Linked DNA regions of Homo sapiens: regions 1, 2, 4, 5, 6 and 7 are each linked to region 3. The links are contacts of gene promoters, found by promoter capture Hi-C in blood cells and fetal thymus (Javierre and others, 2016). All regions are on one chromosome and are shown on one strand. The core of a region is centred on a gene start or on the middle of the fragment in contact, and the rest is flanking DNA. Distances in the headings are between cores, read along the strand shown. Region 1 holds the start of ANKRD39 (ankyrin repeat domain 39). Region 2 has its middle 28 kb from the start of STARD7-AS1. Region 3 holds the start of ARID5A (AT-rich interaction domain 5A). Region 4 overlaps STARD7-AS1 (STARD7 antisense RNA 1). Region 5 overlaps FAM178B (family with sequence similarity 178 member B). Region 6 holds the start of ADRA2B (adrenoceptor alpha 2B). Region 7 overlaps ASTL (astacin like metalloendopeptidase).

Evidence for each region. The method cuts DNA at HindIII sites, captures the fragments that hold promoters and counts their contacts. A CHiCAGO score of 5 or more calls a contact.
Region 1: a contact is called between the fragment with the promoter of ANKRD39 here and the fragment with the promoter of ARID5A in region 3, in 2 of 17 cell types (monocytes and erythroblasts). The highest score is 6.8, in monocytes.
Region 2: a contact is called between a fragment that was not itself captured here and the fragment with the promoter of ARID5A in region 3, in 2 of 17 cell types (total CD8 T cells and total B cells). The highest score is 7.4, in total CD8 T cells.
Region 4: a contact is called between a fragment that was not itself captured here and the fragment with the promoter of ARID5A in region 3, in 1 of 17 cell types (neutrophils). The highest score is 5.4, in neutrophils.
Region 5: a fragment that was not itself captured here is called in contact with the fragment with the promoter of ARID5A in region 3 in 1 of 17 cell types (non-activated CD4 T cells); the score reaches 5.3 in non-activated CD4 T cells.
Region 6: the fragment with the promoter of ADRA2B here is called in contact with the fragment with the promoter of ARID5A in region 3 in 1 of 17 cell types (fetal thymus); the score reaches 6.1 in fetal thymus.
Region 7: a contact is called between a fragment that was not itself captured here and the fragment with the promoter of ARID5A in region 3, in 1 of 17 cell types (activated CD4 T cells). The highest score is 7.3, in activated CD4 T cells.

Annotation. Positions count from the first base shown.
Region 1 is chr2:96,856,691-96,859,390 of GRCh38, reverse strand. ANKRD39 (ankyrin repeat domain 39) reads left to right here and starts at 1,375. Exons shown (of 4, transcript NM_016466.6): 1 at 1,375-1,503. The coding sequence starts at 1,404. RefSeq lists silencers at 845-1,514, 1,545-1,714. The HindIII fragment of the contact is 20,079 bases long and covers 1-2,700 here.
Region 2 is chr2:96,179,395-96,182,094 of GRCh38, reverse strand. No RefSeq gene overlaps it. Among named protein-coding and RNA genes, the nearest start is that of STARD7-AS1, 28 kb to the left of the region's middle. The HindIII fragment of the contact is 533 bases long and covers 1,020-1,552 here.
Region 3 is chr2:96,535,365-96,538,064 of GRCh38, reverse strand. It overlaps ARID5A (AT-rich interaction domain 5A), which reads right to left and starts at 1,313. Exons shown (of 7, transcript NM_212481.3): 1 at 1,235-1,313. The coding sequence starts at 1,238. RefSeq lists silencers at 145-354, 1,035-1,394. The HindIII fragment of the contact is 5,212 bases long and covers 1-2,700 here.
Region 4 is chr2:96,232,191-96,234,890 of GRCh38, reverse strand. All of the region lies in intron 1 of STARD7-AS1 (STARD7 antisense RNA 1), which reads right to left. Among named protein-coding and RNA genes, the nearest start is that of SNORA112, 19 kb to the right of the region's middle. RefSeq lists enhancers at 640-789, 800-869. The HindIII fragment of the contact is 9,545 bases long and covers 1-2,700 here.
Region 5 is chr2:96,915,675-96,918,374 of GRCh38, reverse strand. The region is part of intron 12 of FAM178B (family with sequence similarity 178 member B); the gene reads left to right. Among named protein-coding and RNA genes, the nearest start is that of SEMA4C, 47 kb to the right of the region's middle. The HindIII fragment of the contact is 8,021 bases long and covers 1-2,700 here.
Region 6 is chr2:96,115,271-96,117,970 of GRCh38, reverse strand. ADRA2B (adrenoceptor alpha 2B) reads left to right here and starts at 1,400. Exons shown (of 1, transcript NM_000682.7): 1 at 1,400-2,700. The coding sequence starts at 1,822. RefSeq lists silencers at 571-640, 681-1,140, 1,151-1,310, 1,411-1,500. The HindIII fragment of the contact is 8,066 bases long and covers 1-2,700 here.
Region 7 is chr2:96,131,318-96,134,017 of GRCh38, reverse strand. ASTL (astacin like metalloendopeptidase) reads left to right here. Exons shown (of 9, transcript NM_001002036.4): 4 at 1-53; 5 at 476-593; 6 at 1,297-1,478. Among named protein-coding and RNA genes, the nearest start is that of ASTL, 5.8 kb to the left of the region's middle. RefSeq lists enhancers at 956-1,456, 2,459-2,688. The HindIII fragment of the contact is 2,736 bases long and covers 1-2,649 here.

The sequences.
Region 1 (2,700 bases), core at 126-2,625, 320 kb before region 3:
AGGAGTGGAAGGTTGTGGAGATGAGATCATTGCTTGTGTGAGGATGGGGTTCTCAACCTGCTTAGGGGAGGAGAAACGACTTCCAGCCTTCTACCCACCAGGAATGCTAGGGTCTTCCGTGCCCCAACTAGCGGGGGAAGGAACTTACATCCAGTGTGCACCAGACCACTGTCCTGGAGAGGGACTGGCACAGAACCCAACCTGCATTCTGTCGTTCATGCACTCTTTCTAAGCCGATCAGGCGGTCTCCCCTGTACACTTGATCGTGGCTTGAGCAGGCAGCTGCCTGGGTTTTAACTGGGAATTGAGAAGGCTGGGGTCCGCTGAGGAGCACGCTGCGAAGGTGCGCGGTCCGCAGACGGCCTCCCGGTGGGTTTTGATCATGAAGACCGATTCCGTAAACTCAGCGCCCACTGTGGGGCCAGGGGGTTCTGCACAAACCAAGGCCCTGCCCCTGCCCTGAGGTGGAGCTACAGGCAGGACAAGTTGTGGCCACCTGCCCCTTGCTGGACTTGTAAGGAAGAGCAGGGTACGGGGAGGGGCGTCTCGAGGCCTTTCCAGCCGTCACTTTGCCGCTGCCCCGGGGGCGGTCGGCCTTGGTCCGGGGTGGTGCCAGGAAGAGGGGCTAAAAACCGTGGAGCGCGCCCCGGCCCGATGGCTCACGCCTGTAATCCCAGCACTTTGGGAGGCCAAGGTGAGCGGATCACGAGGTCAAGAGATCGAGACCATCCTGGCGAAACCCCGTCTCTACTAAAAAATACAAAAAATTAGCCGGGCGTGGTGGCGGGCGCCTGTAGTCCCAGCTACTCAGGAGTCTGACGCAGGAGAATCGCTTGAACCCGGGAGGCGGAGGTTGCAGTGAGCCGAGATCGCGCCACTGCACACAAGTCTGGGTGACAGCGAGACTCCGTCTCAAAAAAAAAAAAAAAAAAAAAAAAGACCGCGGAGCGCGTGGCGCCTCCCTGCCCTAGGGACTAGGGGCGGTAAAGAGAGGAGGCTGCGAGGTCGCTGGACGGCTGGGTCATGGCGAAGGTAACGGGAAAGCTCCCGACCGGACCCAGCTGCCTCATCCCCACACCCTGCAAGGCCAGGCGGCCCGGCGGCCCTCCAGCGGCGCGCGGCTCCCGGAACCCAGCGCCTCAGTCCTCGCTTGGCCTTGGACGCCCTCGCGCGGAGGCCTCGGGGCACGGCCGGGCGCAACAAGCCCCGCCCTACCGTTGCAATTGGTTCTCGAGCTAAGGCCTAGGCGTTTGATTGGTCAGCTTTGGCGAGAAGGCGGGACTAGGGCGACAGCCGCGGACGCCGAGCGGCCAGATCAGGGACGCGGGGCGGGCCCTGCGTCCGCCCCTCCCGCCGAGGCTGAGCCTGAGACCCGGGGCGGATCGACTGACGCCGGGGCCGGGATGGCGACGCCTCGGCCCTGCGCGGACGGGCCCTGCTGCTCGCATCCCAGCGCGGTGCTCGGCGTACAGCAGACGCTGGAGGAGATGGACTTCGAGAGGGGTGAGGCTGCCGCGCGGCCCTCGTGGTTCTCACCAGGCCCCGGCCCAAGGAGGAGGCGTGGGGCCAAGGAGAGGCGGATGAACGGGGCCCCGAGAGCTTGGGGCTTGGGGCTTGGGGCCTGGTGCGGGAAGGCGGGCGGGACCCACGGTTCCCGTGTACTGAGAGCCTCCCAGGGCCCCGCACGAGCTCGGCCAGGAGACACCTGTCCCGCGGGCGGCGGGGAAGCGGAAGCACTGGTTTCCGTAACCCTCCCGAGTAGCGGGGGACGACCTCCCCTGGGAGACACAAGCCTGCTCAGGTGTTTGAGAGAGGGCCCGGGGAGCAGAATCTGCACCAGGGGCATTGCACCCAACCTGAGGGGCATGGAGCTGCAGGCCTGGGGGCTGCGCGGTGAAGGAGAGCAGTGGCCTTTGTTTAGCCCCGGGTGCCAGGCAGCCTGCATGCTTTAAAGATGGCAAGAGCTTCGCACGGGCAGCCTTCGAGGCAGGGCACAGTATCTCATCTGTGGGACCCAGAGAGGTAACACGTTTGGCCCAGATTATACAGAGATTATGGTGCCAATAGGAACAGAGGAAGGCGGGAAACCAGGGTGCTTCTTGTGAGCGTTGGGAACCACTGTGCTGTGTCATCTGCCCTTGCGGATGCAGCCCTCGATTGCCACTGCTGTGTAAGCATTCTCATGGAACTCTTCCTTTACCGTGGTTCTGGCACCTGCCTACTTCCCTCCGCCCCTCCTACCGCTGTCCTCTGCACTGCTGAAGTGGTTGCCTCAGAGGGTCTTTCTGCTTCCACGCTTGCCTTCCTACAGGGTTTTCTACTCTCACATAGCAGCCAGAGCGGCTTTTTGAAAATTAGAAATCACATCATTCCCTGTTATGGCCTACAAAGCTCTGTAGACCCACCCCTGCCGGTTCTACTTCTCCTCCTCATTTTATTTCTCATGCTTTTCTTCCCCCAATCACTACGCCGCAGCCACACTGGTCTTGTTTTGGTGTCTCAAATATGCAAGACCTTTTCCTGAGTTAAGGCCGTTGGACTTGCTGTCCCATCTCCTTAGAATGAACTTCCTACAACCGTTAAGCTAGCTGATGCTTTTCTTCAGATCCCAGCTCCAATGTCATCTCCTCAGAGACCCTCCCTAAACACCCCAGTTCTCAACTGGGGGCAGTTCTGCCCTTTAAGGGACTTTGAATATCT
Region 2 (2,700 bases), core at 37-2,536, 360 kb after region 3:
TTCTTAACCATTGACATATTTGAAACTGGTACCTTTTTATGTGTCACAAAGATTTGAGTATTGCACACCTAAACCCATTTCTCTATAGGCCTTGCAGTTTTTGTTGTGTGGTTTGTGTAGACATGTTGTGAGACAGCAGCACTGAGTGTTCTATGAACAGGAGAACCAAATAATAGGAAAGTAGTGATGCTTTAATAGCTAGCGTGGGCTTAGCTATCACAGCGTGGTGACCGTGGGTTGAGTGTTAGTATGAGGTTTTCATTTTAAAAAATGTATATATATATAGAAAAAGACGAAGAAACTACGTTGTATACCCTTCCCTTTGCTGGTGTTTAACATCTGCTGTGTGTGCTTTCTCTTTCTATATACACAGTGTCATGATCATTTGAAAGTAGGATGCAAACATCATGGTATTTCACCCCTAAACAGTTGAGCATGCTTTTTATAATACAGGTGTTCTGTGTAGCCACAATACCATGAGCACACAAGATAAATAACAATGCCACAATATCTAATAATGCAGTTCATATTAAAATTTCCAAAATGACTTTTATAGCCTCCCCAACCCAAGATTAATTATCGTGTGTTGCATTTGTCTCTTTGGCCACTTTTTTTTTTTTTTGTGAGACAGAGTGTTGCTCTGTCACCCAGGCTGGAGTGCATTGACACCATCTCAGCTCACTGCAACCTCCACCTCCCGGGTTCAAGCAATTCTTCTGCCTCAGCCTCCCGAGTAGCTGGGATTACAAGCGTGCACCACCACACCCAACTAATTTTTATATTTTTAGTAGAGATGAGGTTTCACCATGTTAGCCAGGCTGGTCTCAAACGCCTGACCTCAAGTGATCCACCCGTCTCAGCCCCCAAAACTGCTGGGATTACAGGCGTGAGCCACTTCGCCCGGCCTTCTTTGGCCACTTTTCATCTAGAACAGTAGTCTACCTTTTGTAACTTCACCTGTGCTTCATATAATAGAATGTAGAGCAGTGGTCTTCAAGCTTGGCTGCACTTGGGAAGCTTTGCAAACTCCCAAAGCCTGGCCCCACCCCAGACCATTGAAACCTCTAGGGGTGAGCAAGTGTTGTGCAAGTGTACATGAACAAGTGTTAAATGTTGAATGTGATCAAAGGGAGACAAATAGGCTAGAGAGGCAACAGTCTTCCTAGATCCGCATACTACTGATGTAAGTCTTGTCATACTGTTGGCTTATGCTGAGTTTGGGATTAGCCAATAATAGCCACCATTATTGAGCATCTACTGTGCCAGGCACCATGCTTCATGCCTTCATCTAATTCTATAGCCCTGTGAGTATGTAGCTAGTGCCTCATCTATAAAATGAAGAGATGGCATTAGAGGTTAAGTAATTTTCTTGCTCAGGGTCACACAGGAAGTGACAGCCAGGATGCAGACCTAGCTCTAACATCTCCAAAGACAGCTGGCAGCATGGCTTAAAACTTATGTTTTTAAATTTTTTTATTTTCCCCCTAAAACTTAATGTTTATAAATACTGCCAGATTCTTTCCCCTGGGGGTAGTTGACTTGTTTGGAAGCTTGGATCATAGCTTGCTTTATTTTTTATTATTTATTTATTTATTTTTATTTTTTGGCTAGTGACACAGCCCTCAGGAGATCTTGAGAACATATGCCCCATGAGCTTGCTTTTTAAAAAATTTTATTTTTTGAGATAGTCTCGCTGGTGCCCAGGCTGGAGTGCTGTGGTGCCATCAGATCTCACTGCAGCTTTGAACTCCTGGGTTTAAGTGAACTCCCACATCAGCCTCCTGAGTAGCCCAGACCAACCACAGGCATGCACCACCATTCCCATCTAATTTTTCTGTAGAGATGGGGTCTCACTGTGTTGCCCAGGCTGGTCTCAAACTCCTGACTTCAAGTGATCCTCCCACCTAGATCTCCCAAAGTATTGGAATTACAGGTGTAAGCCACTGTGCCTGGCCTAGGCTTGCCTGCTTGCTTGACTTTTGTTTTTTCAGAGTCCCACTCTGTCACCCAGGCTGGATTGCAGTGGCGCAGTCAAGGCTTACTGCAGTCTTCAACTCCCTGGGCTCAGGCAATCCTCCCACCTCTGCTGGGACTACAGCACGAGCCACCACACCTGGATAATTTTTGTATTTATTTTATAGGTGGGCTTTCACCATGTTGCCCAGGCTGGTCTCAAAACTGGCCTCAAGCAATCTTCCCAATTTGGCCTCCCGAAGCACTGGAATTATAGGTGTGAGCCACTATGCCTGGTTTAGGCTTGCTTTCTGTGTTAAATTTTATGTGGTTTACACTTCTTACCCTCTAGTTCCATCCAGTATAATAGCCAGTTGCTTGAACTTTATCTCTTTCACCAATTGTTTGAGTTCTGTTTCTGTAAGTATCTGGAATCATTTTTCTCTAGAACACTTCAGAATGTACACCACTCCCAGTACCATACTGTGTAATGAAGGGATGGGGGGTGGGGACATCTTGAAATAACGTTTTCTAAAGGTATTAAATTTCAAAGTCACCAGTCTCTGAACCCACCATGATAGGACAGAAATCTAAATATTTTTCTCAAAGTGAAAATAGCAATAAAATCTGAGAACTATGATTTCTAATGAATAAACTTGAAAGCCTTTTAAAAATCAAGCAGTAACGTGTAGATGAAAGTGATCTTAATGCAGATGTACTATCCCTATAAGCCTCAGCGGGTACTTG
Region 3 (2,700 bases), core at 64-2,563:
TCTGAGCTCTGCTGCGGGGTGAAGCCCTCGAGCCCCGACCTCCCACCCCTCCTGTGCTCTAGCGTTGCCTGTAGGCGCAGTGACGCCACCGTGCGTGTGGGCTCCCACCAGAGGAGCCCGGGTGGGGCAAGAGGCACCTGTTGTCCTCCCCTGGGGCCCGCGGAGCACTCCTTACTGGCCCAAGACTCTGCAAACAAAGGGACACTGGACCCGCAGCGCCTTGGGACCCCCTGGGCCCTCGGGGGTCCTGCACCGCGCAAGCCCCACCACGCCGGCGCTGGGCGGAGGGTGACGCGACCCCAGCCCGGGCGACCCCTAGACACCGCGGAGGGACGGAGCGCGGGCCCGGGTTGGCCCGCAGCTCCCGCCGAGCGCGAAGCCGGGCATCGCCTGCAAGCTCGTAGCCCACGCTCTTGCCCTCTTCCCCTGACGCTCCCCAGCCGCCACCCCGTCCCTTCTGCAGACCGAGGGAAGACAAGGGGACACACAAGGGACAGGAGAGGAGAGCAACCAGGGAAGCGACCCCTCTCCTGTGGGGCTGCGGCGGGTGGGCGGAGAGACAGGAGAGGAAAAGAGAAAAGGGAAGAGAAGGAAGGGGCAGGGGGCGAGAAGCCGGGCTCCCCGGACCATCGGCGCAGCCCGCGGCCGAAAGAGGAACAGTGGATCCTACAAAGCGCATTGAGCAAGTTCTTCACACCCGCGCAGCCCCTTTCAGGAAACGGCGGCCGCAGAGGAAAGGGCCGCGCGCTCTGGACCCGGAGTCTGTGCCCGGCGGCGCCGCGGTTCTGAAACCTGCGGGATGTCACGGGGCGGAGGGGCGGCTGCCGACAGCTGTCACAACAAATTAGCTGAGCCCAGCTCGAGGTGGAAACCGCAGCAGGAAGTGGGACGACAGAGCCGTACCGGGCTCGGCATATTTCAGGCAAGAGACGGCGAAAAGAGTTTCGAGATAAACGCCCGGGAAGCCCCTGGCCGCCAAAACTTTTTGTCTTTCCTTTTCTCGAAGCTCGCGCGGACGCCCAGCCTCACCCCTTCCGCGCCGGCCGGGGAGCGCTGAAGCCGCGGGCCGGGCTCGCTCCCCTTGGCCCGCGCCCCGAAACCCACCCCGGGCCCCTCTCCGCCCCACACAGCGCACCGACTGCCACGAGGGCTGGAGGGGACCCGGCGCCGGCACCTTGAACCTCCCTGCAGGGCCGCCGAGCCCCTGTCCGGGCCGCGCCGCAGAGCCGCTTACCCATGGCCCGGAGAGGTCCCGCGGCGCCCGCCCCGAGACCCTCAGCGCGCGGCTGTCCGGACCCCGCGCTCTCTGAGATACTGGCTCGCGGCGCGGCCCGCCGGCCACCTCCCCGCAGTCCCGCCCCGTCCCGCCCCTGCTCGCCCCACTCCGGGCTCCCATTGGTAAGCCCGGCTTCGTCGCGCGGAGAAGGCGGGGGGCGGGGACCGCCCTTGAGTCCGGGGACCTCTGGGAATTGTAGTGCGCGCCCCTCGCCTCTAGGCTTTCAGACTGGAGCCCCTGGAATAGGCTCCTCACCTAGAGGAGCGGAGGCAGGACCCTCAGTAATCATTGCTGCCTTGTGCCTCAGTTTCCCTGGAGGCAAAACTAGAGCCTTGGAAAAAGCCTCCTTGCTTTCAGCAGAGCACTGAGGACTCTGTGGAGCGAGCAAAGTGCTTCTGACTTTGATTTGAAAGTGGCCCTGTGCATTTCCCAGTCCCCACCTAGCCCAACAAAGAAGGCCAGGTGAGGCCGGGAGCGGCGGCTCACGCCTGGAATCCCTGCTTTGGGAGGCGGAGGCGGGAGGATCACTTGAGCCCAGAAGGTCGAGGCTGCAGTGTGTTTTGATCACACCACTGCACTCTATCCTGGATCCTGGGCAATAGACGGAGACCCTGCCTCAAAAAAAAAAAAAAAAAAAAAAAAAAAAAAAAAAAGGAGAGGTGGTTAGTGTGAGCTAGACAAGGACCAAACTAGTAAATCCTTGGCCTAGGCTCTGTGGCCAGGCCTGCCAGTAATAGTCAATGTCCACACACATAATGCAGACAGAGTGTGGCAGCTACAAGCTGAGTAGTCCAAAGAAGGGGCATGAGTTCAGGCTGTGGGAGGTGGGAATGAGGCCTAGGGCGAATGGAGGCAGGAGGAGGTGCCCAGCCAGCCATAGCAGCAACCTGGACCTGTGCAGGCCAAAGAGGAAGAAATGGAGGCTCAGGGTTTCAGTCTCAGCAGGTGGCTAGCTAGGATGGGAACCCTGTTCCTAGCACATAGAAGCTACACAAAAATCTTTGTTGATGAATTTTAATACTCATAATAGCTCTATGCACTTGACACCATCATTGTCCTCATTTTATAGCGTAAAACTGAGGTCTGAGAGATTAGCTCAAGTAGCACAGCTGGTAGGTGTTGGAGCCAGAGCTAGACCCAGGAAGAGGAGCCCTCATACCCAGGCATCCCCCCACCCGCTTTGCACCCATTACTAACCACTCATCATACTGGTGCCCCTCCTCACACTAAACGAAGGGACCAGGGCTGCAGTTTGGTGAACCTGAAACCCTGGCCCTTACCCTTTGGCCCTGGGATGGAAGATGTCTGCAGGCTCAGTCTAGAGCAGACGACCCTGTGGGCTCTGCAGGATAAATCCCCTGTCTACCTCATAATGGGTTGGCTTGTAAGAGCCAGCACCTGTAGAATTGGTAATAGACACCCAG
Region 4 (2,700 bases), core at 145-2,644, 300 kb after region 3:
TCATGAGACCTGTCTCCTTGGCCATAATTACCACAACCGGACCGGGGATGAGCTCCTAATCCAAGTGAAGGCACTTGATTCTTTCTTTTGGGAGCTTGAAGTGAGGATTCAAAGACATCAGTGTCAATTAGTGCTCAAACTGGAAGGATTTGTAAATTTAGAAACTGGGTCAGACATTTTTCTTTATATAAATGGAAAAGCTGAGAAGATTAGGTAGGGGTTGGGTGAAAGAGTAAAGCAGAAAGGAAGTAGAAAAGTAGAAAGAAAATAAGAGTCCACATAGACTTGGAGTTGCAAAAGAGGAATTACTTAGGTTCCTGTCCTAAGGTTTGAGTCCTCTGAGAAGATGCCCAGATAGGACTAAATGTGCAAGAGATGTGCTGGGAAAACACTTGTGAAGCGAATAGCAGGAAGCCGGAAGAGCCTGGGAGAGCTGCAATGCAGGTGTAGCCCCTGCCAGGAGACAGGAATGGAGGAGGGCTGGGTTGAGGAGGTGTTAGAACGCAGTGTAGTTCTTTCTTTTTCAGAGACAGTCTCCCTTTGTTGTCCAGGCTGGCCTCAAACTCCTGAGCTCAAGCAATTCTCCTCCCTCAGCCTCTTGAGTAGCTGGGACTACACATGCCTAACCATGCCCAGCTTAGAACGTAGTGTAGTTCTAAGAAAGCTCTGCAAGAGCTGATGAGGTGTGCTTGTGCCAAAGCCACCTGTCAGAGGAGTCCCCATATCCCAGAAATGGGCCTGCCTTAGTATGGCAGGCCTGCACTCAGTCACCGGGTGGGAGCAGCTCACAAGAAGGGTGGTCTCAGTGCAAATGCAGTGGCAGAATTTCATAGCCCAGCAGCAGGGGGCCATGTTACGCTCCCCTGCATTCAGAGATGTGAGCAGTGCACTCTCATGGCCACAGCTCCCAATGCCTTTTCAGTTCCTTTTTCTACCACCTTATGATGCGCAAGTGCCTTTCCTGCCTGTGAATTCTGAGCTTCTTGAGACACTCCTGGATCTTTCAAATTCGATTCCATATTTATGCTTAAACTACTTTGAGTGGATTCCAAGTACTTGCAACAAAAACAACAACAAAAAACATAGATTGAAATAGTAACAAGGGGACTATAATCTAAATTTTCTATATAAGAGGGGATGGAAGGAGGTAATAATAATTCTAGCGCTTATTCCTTATACCCTGTAGAGGGTTCTACAGTTTGTAATGTATTTTAGCTTACACAATCTTATTTGAGTCTTACAACAACCTCTGAACACAAGTAAGGCTGGCATCATTATCTGTATTTCACAGATGAGGAAGCTGAGTTTCAGAGACAATACAAATTATGCTGAATTGAAAAAAAATGGAGGCCGGGCGAGGTGGCTCACGCCTGTAATCCCAGCACTTTGGAAGGCTGAGGCAGGTGGATCACCTGAGGTCGGAGTTCGAGACCAGCCTGACCAACATGGAGAAACCCCATCTCTACTAAAAATACAAAATTAGCTGGGCATGGTGGTACATGCCTGAAATCCTAGCTACTTGGGAGGCTGAGGCAGGAGAATTGCTTGAACCCGGGAGGCAGAGGTTGCAGTGAGCTGAGATAGTGCCATTGCACTCTAGCCTGGGCAAAAAGAGCGAAACTCTATTCAAAAAAAAAAAAAAAAAGACAAACCATATAAATGTTAGCCTCTACCTATAAAAGCAGTGAGCCAAAAGCAGCACTGCATTCCTGGAGAGATTGCAGAAATTAGTTCCACCACTAATCAATGATCTGAAAGACACAGAGCTGATGATTTCCATTCAGCTTAGCTCTCTAGCCTGTGCAGATCCAAGATGGATCCAAGAGAATGGCGTGGATTATTATAAACTCAATTAGGTTGTGACTCCAATTGCAGCTGCTATTCTAGGTGTGCCTTCATTCATGAAGCAAATCAATGCATCCCTTGGAGCAAAGTATGCAGCTATTGATCTGATGAATGCTTTTTTCCTCAGCAATTTTTAGTAAAGACCATCAAAAGCAGTTTGCTTTGAGCTGACAGGGCTAGCAATACCTATTCGTTATCCAAACTCAGGACTGTATCAATTCGCAGTCATCTGTCATCATCTAGTTTGTGGAGACCTTGTCCTCTTCTCTACTCCACAGGACATCACATTCATCTAATGTGTTGATAATATGCTGATTAGAAGTAGTAACTATTCTAGCCACCTTGACGAGATATATGTATGCCAGAGGGTGGGAAATAAATCCCACAAACATTCAGTGAACCTTCTGGGGGGCCTAACGGTCTGGGGCATGTTAAGCTGGGCCCTACTACCACTAAGAGGCACAATGCCCAGTGGTTTTGGATTTTGAAGGCAATGTATACCTCATTTCAATGTTCTTCTCTGACCCATTTTCTGAATAACTTAAAAGGCTATCAGTTTTGAGTGGGGCCCAGAAGAAAAGATGACATTGTCATGACAGTTCCTGACTTATGAAGGTTCAACTTAATTTTTTTTACTTCAGCAATGATGCGAAAGCGATGTGCATTCAGTAGAAGCTGTATTTCGAATGCTGGATTTTGATCTTTCCCTAGGTGAGTGATATGTGGTGCGATGCTCTCTCGTGATGCTGGGCAGCAGCAGTGAGTGCAGCTCTGCCAGCCACAGGATCACTAGGCTGGATGACCAATATTCTACAGTGGGCTGTATGGACGGATCACTTTGCCCAACTGTAGGCC
Region 5 (2,700 bases), core at 149-2,648, 380 kb before region 3:
CTCTTACTGTAAATTACCTTTTGGTATTTCTTACCCACTTTCCTATCAGTTAATTTATCTTCTTATCAACTCTGTTGATCTTCATGTTGCTTATTATGTTACAGTATGTTTTCTCCAAAGGTTATATAGATTGTCCTTTTTAAATCTTTATGTATGGTACCTTTCAGTGAACTGGAATTTTTTTTCTTTTTTTTTTTACTTTTTCAGTCCTTTTTTTTTTTATTTTAGAATAGATTTAGATTTACAGGACAGTTTTATGGATAATGCAGAGAATTGATTGGGATTTTTGTGTAATGTAATCTTTCCATGTGGAAGACGAAGGGTTTCCCCACCAAGACCATAAAGATAGTGTGCTTTCTTCTCTTTCAGGACTGGCTTTACTTTGTGTCCATCAGCTCTTAATCCCAACTCAAATCTGTTTGTCCTTGGTATGAGAGAAGGATCTAACTTGATTTTTTCCATCCCCAAACAGCCAGTGGGGACCCAACGTCAATTTTTCTGCCTTTTGTTTTGTTTTTTGAGAGAGGGTCTCACTCTGTCACCCAGGCTGGAGTGCAGTGGTACCATCATGGCTCACTGCAGCCTCGACCTCTTGGGATCAAGTAATCCTCCTGCCTCAACCTCCTTAGTAGCTAGGACTACAGACAGATGCCAACACACCCATCTAATTTTTAAATTTTTAGTAGAGACAAGGTCTCCCTATGTTGTGCAGGCCGATCTCAAATCCCTGGGCTGAAGTGATCTTCCCACTTCAGCCTCCCAAACTGCTGGGATCACGGGTGTGAGCCACCATGCCTCAGCTTTTTGGTCTTAATAATTCATCCTTTCAAGACAGATTTGAAGCTACCTTCTCCATATCCTAAGTTTATGACTTCACTCCTTCATCTGCTAGCCATGTTAAACTGTGATTTCATGAATCAGTGTCTTTTGTGGAATCTGTGGGTAGCTCCAGGGCCCATGGCAATTGCCCTTTAAATGCCAGGAAATGAATGAAACAGAGCATCTTGCGCCTGCCTTTCAGGCAGCCACGTCAGCAGGGTGATGCTTTGTGCCAAGAGCTTTACTAGGAAGGAGGGTGCCTTATCGGGATCAGTGTTATTGATTTTATTTTTCTAAATAGATAAAAGCATTCAAATAAAACAAAATTCGTAAGGTACCAAGGAGTACCTTTTTGAAAGTACTCCTTTCAAATTTGATGTTGAAAATGCGCTTCTTCCCCTGAGCCAGAGCCACCTGGCTGGCCGCCAGCCTCTGTCTGCGTGTGCACGTACCCGCCGTTTCCGCACCTTCTTTGCTCTTCAGGGTGTGTTCTGGCCGTCATCCCTGATTGGGTTGTAAAGGGCTCCTAATTCTTTTTTCCTGCCGCGTTGTACTCACTGTGGGTCTTCAGTGAGCTGCTGCTCCACTGTGCTTCCCGCGGCGGCCACAGAGCTTACTGGCTGCCTTCACTGGTGGCTGCCCCACTGGGCTCTGTGCCCAGACTGACCCCAGGAAGAAGGGCAGATTGGTGTACGAAGGGCTGTCACACTCTTTGTCTGCTCGACTGACTGGTTAAGCACAAAGCGAGAACTCCTGCTGACACTCATGCAGTACACCCGCAGCCCCTGCCTCAGCGTTCAAGACTTCATGGGATGCACTGCAAATGTAAGGAAGAGCTGGGCCTAACCATGAAAAATGAAAGTGAATACTAAGGCAGACCACCTGAAACAGAGCCAAGGGGAAGAGGAGGTTCTTGGAGGAACATCCACCTTGGGAGGTGGCGCCATTGGGGCAGCTCAGGCAGCTTTGGGAAGAGCAGCATGCCATCCCCACTTCTGTTCAGGGCTCCTGCAACTGCTTGCACTCTACTGAAAGCTGATGTCCCAGGCTCTGGGGATCCTCTTCCTTCACTGCCTGCGGCTATTCATTAAACATCCTGTGTGCGCTGCTTCAAAGCAGAAGGTCAGATGAAGCCAGCTCCCGCAGGCTGCCTGGTCAGATGGAGGAATGGACAAAGCCTGCGTAAAACGGCTCACGAAACCAGCCCTGACAATGACGTAGAGTTCCTTGCCTGGCAGACCAGAATCAATCCGAAAGGACAGTGCTGCCCAGTGTTGGCAGGATGTGAGGAAACAGGCATATGCTTCCCTGCTCATGAGATGCGGTCAGTAGTCCCTCTGGAGGCCAGTTTGGCAAAATCAAGCAAATGACTTTAAAATGTGCACACCCTTCAAAAAGCTAGATCGTTTTCTGGGGAACTAGATGGCAAAGATTCATTGACAAGGATGTTTGGCATAGCAATGTCATGATAGTGAAGAACTGGAAATTGCCTCAGTGCCCCACCATCGATTCAGTTCTGCCCGTGCTACGGAGTATTATATGGTACCTAAAAATGATGTCACAGGAAAATGGGAAAGTTAATGAAATACGCTGAGTGGAAAAAAGGCTTTGAAGCCATATGTAAAGTGTGATGCCAATTCTGTTTAGGGGAAAAGAAAGGCCATCTTTGGGTGTGAGGTTAATAGGAGTGTTTTTGGTTGCCTAGGGCTTATTTCCCCCTTTCTTTTTTTCTTTTTCTTTTTTTTTTTTTCCCACTCTGTCGCCCAGGCTGGAGTGCAATGGCACAGTCTCAGCTCACTGCAACCTCCGCCTCCCGTGTTTAAGCGATTCTCCTGCCTCAGCCTCCCAAGTGGCTGGGACTACAGGTGCGTGCCACCACAC
Region 6 (2,700 bases), core at 151-2,650, 420 kb after region 3:
GGCACTGAGAGGCCACGTGCTCTGCTCCCATGGAGGGAGCAGGGAGGAGAGGAGGTCCAGCAGGTTGGACGGGGCCTGGGGGAGCCCCACTGTCAGAGGTGGATTGGTGCTTATTTATACAGAGGATGCCTTGCAGAGTCGTGGGCTGTGAATAAGAGGCCTGGCTCGAGGCGGGGCTTATGACATTAGGGGCTCCAGAACCGGGGAAACATGCCCTCAGGGCTGCCCAGGCTGGTGCTGGTGGCGGTGTGGCAGGGAGAGTGAGTTGGGGCCCTGAGGGAGAACAGTTGCTCATAGCGCTTTGAAGGCGAGTGGGGGGCCTTAGTCTGAAGTTTCTTTTTACCCCAACCCTCTTTCCACTGTCACCCCCAGAAGGGCTTCAGTGTGTATGTGGGGCAGGACCGCAGCAGGGAGGGAGGGTCAACCCCTTCCCCCGGGGTCACTACAGAAGCGGAGGGACGCTCCTCTCTTCACGGCTGCCCCTGAGACCTGCTTTTTCTCGGAGCTGTGTGACAAAGTCCCCACCCTTTACTCCCCCACGGCAAGGAAGGGACCTCCCCTTCGCATTAGTCAAGGGGCGGCAGCTCGCCCTGTGCCCCGTACAAACCCTTGGCTGAATCGCAGTTGATGCTGTGATTCGAGTCCAAGCCAGTTTCCCTGTTACCTCCTTTGCCCTTAATGGAGGAAACTGAGGCAGCTGCGGAGACACAAGAAGCCGAAGTCCTAAGACCCAGGCTGCGAGCGCTGGCTCCGGGACCCGGGCTGCCGCTGACGGGCTGGGCCCGCGGGCGGCAGCAGGGGGCGCTCGCAGGCCGGGACGCGCCCTCCTCGCGCGGCGCTGGCCCGACGGAGCTGGTCCGCGAGGGGCAGCGCCTGGGAAAGGGTCGGGACCGGCTCCCCGCTCCCCGCTCCCCCACCTCTCCGCAGGGCGTCTCCACGGCCGAGCCGGGCGGGGTTGTGGTGTATTGCGACCCGGCGCCCCAGCCCCACGCCCGCCCTGCCCTCCCTGCGGGCTCCCGAGCGGCGGAAGGCAGAGCAGGGCGCACCGGCGCCGGGCCCAGCCCGGTTCCCCCGGGAGAAGTGTCCCGTCCCGGTGCCGGCCCGCGCGCTAGCTCCGCGTCCCGGCTCCCGGCACCCACCGACCCCTCCACAGCTGCGCGCGTCCTGCCTGGGGGCCGGAGACCCCGGCCGCCGGGCCCCTCCGCTCTCCCGAGGCGCGGCCGCCGGGAGGAAGGCAGGTAGAGGCGCTGGGCGGGGTCCGGGCGCGGGAAGTCCCGGGCTCACGCCTCCCGCGAAGCGCACCTTCAGCCCACCTCGGTCCGCCCACCGCCCCGCCTCCCGCCCGCTCCCGCGCCCGCCTCCAGTCTCCGCCTTCCTCCAGCCGCTCTCCCCGCTCCCCACTCCCCTGCAGGCGCGGCTGGGGCGAAAGCCTGCGAGCTGAGCGGGCGCAAGGTCCTCCGCGCCTCCTTTAAGAACCGGCCCAGCCCGGCCCGCGCCCCCAGAGCGTACGGCATCCGCGTGGCGGGAGGGCGCGACTTTCTCCGGTCCCGGGCGGGACGGGGACGGCGGCGGGACAACTTGGGAAACTTCTCTGGGGCGGACGGCAGGGACCCCGGGCACCGGTGGAGGAGGATGTAGGAGGGCGGCTGCTGGTCCTGGGTGTTCCCGACCTCCTAGGCCCCGCTCGTCCAGGCCATGGGGCTCCAGCGCCCTCGGCGCCGCCCGAGGGGCGACGCTCTTGTCTAGCCGAGCCGGGCAGCGCTGTCGTCCACGGTGCGCACTGGGCGGGCAGCGCTCCCTCTGCCCACCTCCCGCCCCGTCATGGACCACCAGGACCCCTACTCCGTGCAGGCCACAGCGGCCATAGCGGCGGCCATCACCTTCCTCATTCTCTTTACCATCTTCGGCAACGCTCTGGTCATCCTGGCTGTGTTGACCAGCCGCTCGCTGCGCGCCCCTCAGAACCTGTTCCTGGTGTCGCTGGCCGCCGCCGACATCCTGGTGGCCACGCTCATCATCCCTTTCTCGCTGGCCAACGAGCTGCTGGGCTACTGGTACTTCCGGCGCACGTGGTGCGAGGTGTACCTGGCGCTCGACGTGCTCTTCTGCACCTCGTCCATCGTGCACCTGTGCGCCATCAGCCTGGACCGCTACTGGGCCGTGAGCCGCGCGCTGGAGTACAACTCCAAGCGCACCCCGCGCCGCATCAAGTGCATCATCCTCACTGTGTGGCTCATCGCCGCCGTCATCTCGCTGCCGCCCCTCATCTACAAGGGCGACCAGGGCCCCCAGCCGCGCGGGCGCCCCCAGTGCAAGCTCAACCAGGAGGCCTGGTACATCCTGGCCTCCAGCATCGGATCTTTCTTTGCTCCTTGCCTCATCATGATCCTTGTCTACCTGCGCATCTACCTGATCGCCAAACGCAGCAACCGCAGAGGTCCCAGGGCCAAGGGGGGGCCTGGGCAGGGTGAGTCCAAGCAGCCCCGACCCGACCATGGTGGGGCTTTGGCCTCAGCCAAACTGCCAGCCCTGGCCTCTGTGGCTTCTGCCAGAGAGGTCAACGGACACTCGAAGTCCACTGGGGAGAAGGAGGAGGGGGAGACCCCTGAAGATACTGGGACCCGGGCCTTGCCACCCAGTTGGGCTGCCCTTCCCAACTCAGGCCAGGGCCAGAAGGAGGGTGTTTGTGGGGCATCTCCA
Region 7 (2,700 bases), core at 32-2,531, 400 kb after region 3:
CATGGGTGGTAGTGGTGTCGTGGAGGTCCCCTTCCTGCTCTCCAGCAAGTACGGTGAGTGAGCATGGCGCGCTCCCTCCCTGCCTCAGCCCCTTCTTCCTAATGCGGCAGGTGTTCCTCTCTTCCCTTTTCCTCTTACACCATCACATCCCTTCCACCTCCCCACCCGAAGAACCTGTCCACAGATGCCCTTCTGTTGCTGAAGGTCTCCTGAGTAGGGAGGGTTAAAATCTGATGGGAAGGTATGTCGAGTGGGGATCTGGTTCCCCTTGAGACCATGCGGTGCAGAGGACAGTGACCTACCCAAGGCCACACAGCCAGGGTCTGTCTGGGGCCCAGCTTCTTCCTGGCACCACTAAGCTGCCCTTTCTTGATGCTATTTTGGGAGAGTGAGTTCAGAGCTCTGCTCCCAGACCCTCAGGTAGAGCTCAAAGACCACCAGGGCTCTGGGGGCTCAGCCAGGTGGTGTCTTCCAGATGAGCCCAGCCGCCAGGTCATCCTGGAGGCTCTTGCGGAGTTTGAACGTTCCACGTGCATCAGGTTTGTCACCTATCAGGACCAGAGAGACTTCATTTCCATCATCCCCATGTATGGGTAAGTGCCGGGGCCAGGATGCGTATCTCAGCTCGCTTCTGCGTTCAGCCCGGAATTAACTTGGCCATTGTCTAAAATGTATTCCTGGGCCCATCCTCCAGGGCTCAGTCTCCCTGCCCACCCTGAGGGGTCTGCCAAGTGTGAGCTGGACCTCCAGGGCGGAATGTGGGAAAGGGATGGGAACGGTGCTAGACCCTCCATTTACAAAGCCCTCCTCTCCCGGGGGACTCCATGAGGTGGTGAGGAGAGGAGGTTTTGCGGGGCAGACAGTGCGTGAGTCACTGAGTCCTGGCAAGTCCCCTAACTTCTGAGCCTCTTCTGTCCCCTCTGGGGTGCGAGTGGTGGCGATACCTGCTTCCTAGCTTGTCAGGGGCCTGAGGCAATTTGTGTGAAAGCCTTGGCTTAGGGCTGACCAGGAGGGTGTGCTCACTTAGTAAGCTGCTTCTGTCCTCTGTGTTCATATATCAGTTTCTGCAGCCTCCCTGCAGCCCAGGCTGGTGATGGGGGTCCGGTATGGCCATTTCACAGAAGTCCAGGCAGTAAAGGGGCCTGGAGAATGGTGAACCTGAGACTAGAGCCCAGAGTGGGGCCTGCCTGTTGGGAGTTTGTCTATCTTGTGTTGTGTGGGGAGGGAGAGCCCAGGTCTGTATGTCCGGAGGGATCTGGGCTGGCACTTACCCCACTTGCTCTCATCACCCTGCAGGTGCTTCTCGAGTGTGGGGCGCAGTGGAGGGATGCAGGTGGTCTCCCTGGCGCCCACGTGTCTCCAGAAGGGCCGGGGCATTGTCCTTCATGAGCTCATGCATGTGCTGGGCTTCTGGCACGAGCACACGCGGGCCGACCGGGACCGCTATATCCGTGTCAACTGGAACGAGATCCTGCCAGGTGAGCCAGGCCACACGCAGGACAGGCTGGTGCCGGGGAGGGGACAGCACGGCTTGGGCCCAAGTCGCCTGGTCCCCATGGGTGAGGCTATCCATCCTCCCCATCACCTGCCTGCTTCCTGTGGGGAAGGTGGGGGTCTCACTTCTGTCTGGTACCTGGTACCTGGAGGTGGTACTCTGGGTGCTGCTCTGGGCCCCAGGCCTTCCTCTACCCACCTGTAGTTGTGCCTTAGCTAGGGCGCCACCACCTGCTTTGTCTCGCTTCTCATCCCTGACACTGTCCTCTCCCTGGCGATGGGGCAGGCAGTGCCCATGATACCTGCTTGTTGAGTACTCTAGCAGCGGTCTCATGTACCAGATACCACCACCATGGACTGGGGCTGTGTGCCAGCTTGGGGAGCTGAGCCAAAGTGGGACCCCAAGGTAGCAGGCTGCACAAGCCAAGTGCTGGGCCACGGGCTGAGGGCAGCACTGTGGGGCTGGGACATGTGCCAGTGGTGCCAGTGAGCAGGCAGAAGGAACACAGACTGTGGCCATGGGAGAGTGGAGGCTGGAGGCAGGTGGGCTGTGGTTCCTGTGCTGGCAGCGGCTGTGTGGCGCCGGGGATCAGATCCTGGTGATGGTGGGGTCTCTCTCATTGTGGGCTTGATGGTCTGGTTCAGGAGGCAGGAAGAGCCCCACGAGGGAGGGGCAGAGGAGGTTTGGGTGGGAGTCTGGCTTAGGGGTTGGAGCAGGAAGGCCTACCGCAGGTGGAGGGCGTCCAGCACGAGACCTTTCAGGGCTGTCATGTTAGCCAGGTGAGGCAGCCAGGGAAGCTGCCTGGGCCCAAGGACCTTCCCAGGCCCCAAACACCGCTTTCTCAGTGGCTCTCAGCAAACATGAGTCACAGAGAAAGGGGTGACGGGGCACGTGGGTAGCACCTCACAAAGGGGGAGGGGATGGATATTGAATCAGACCAGGCTGGGGAGGTTGTGAGGGGGGTGACAAGTGACTCTGTACCCTGAAAACAGACTGATCCTTCCCAATGCTCGTGGAACAGTTGTGAAAGTTTACCCTGATAATTTTATGATATACCATGAAATGCCATGAAAACCTGCAACTCTGAAAGTAGACCAATGTAAACATTCTGATCATGATATAAAGTAGAAACCGATACATCAAAACCGAAAGCTTCTCCTATTCAGAAATTGAAAAAAACAACAAAACTTTCTTTCAGCTCTGGA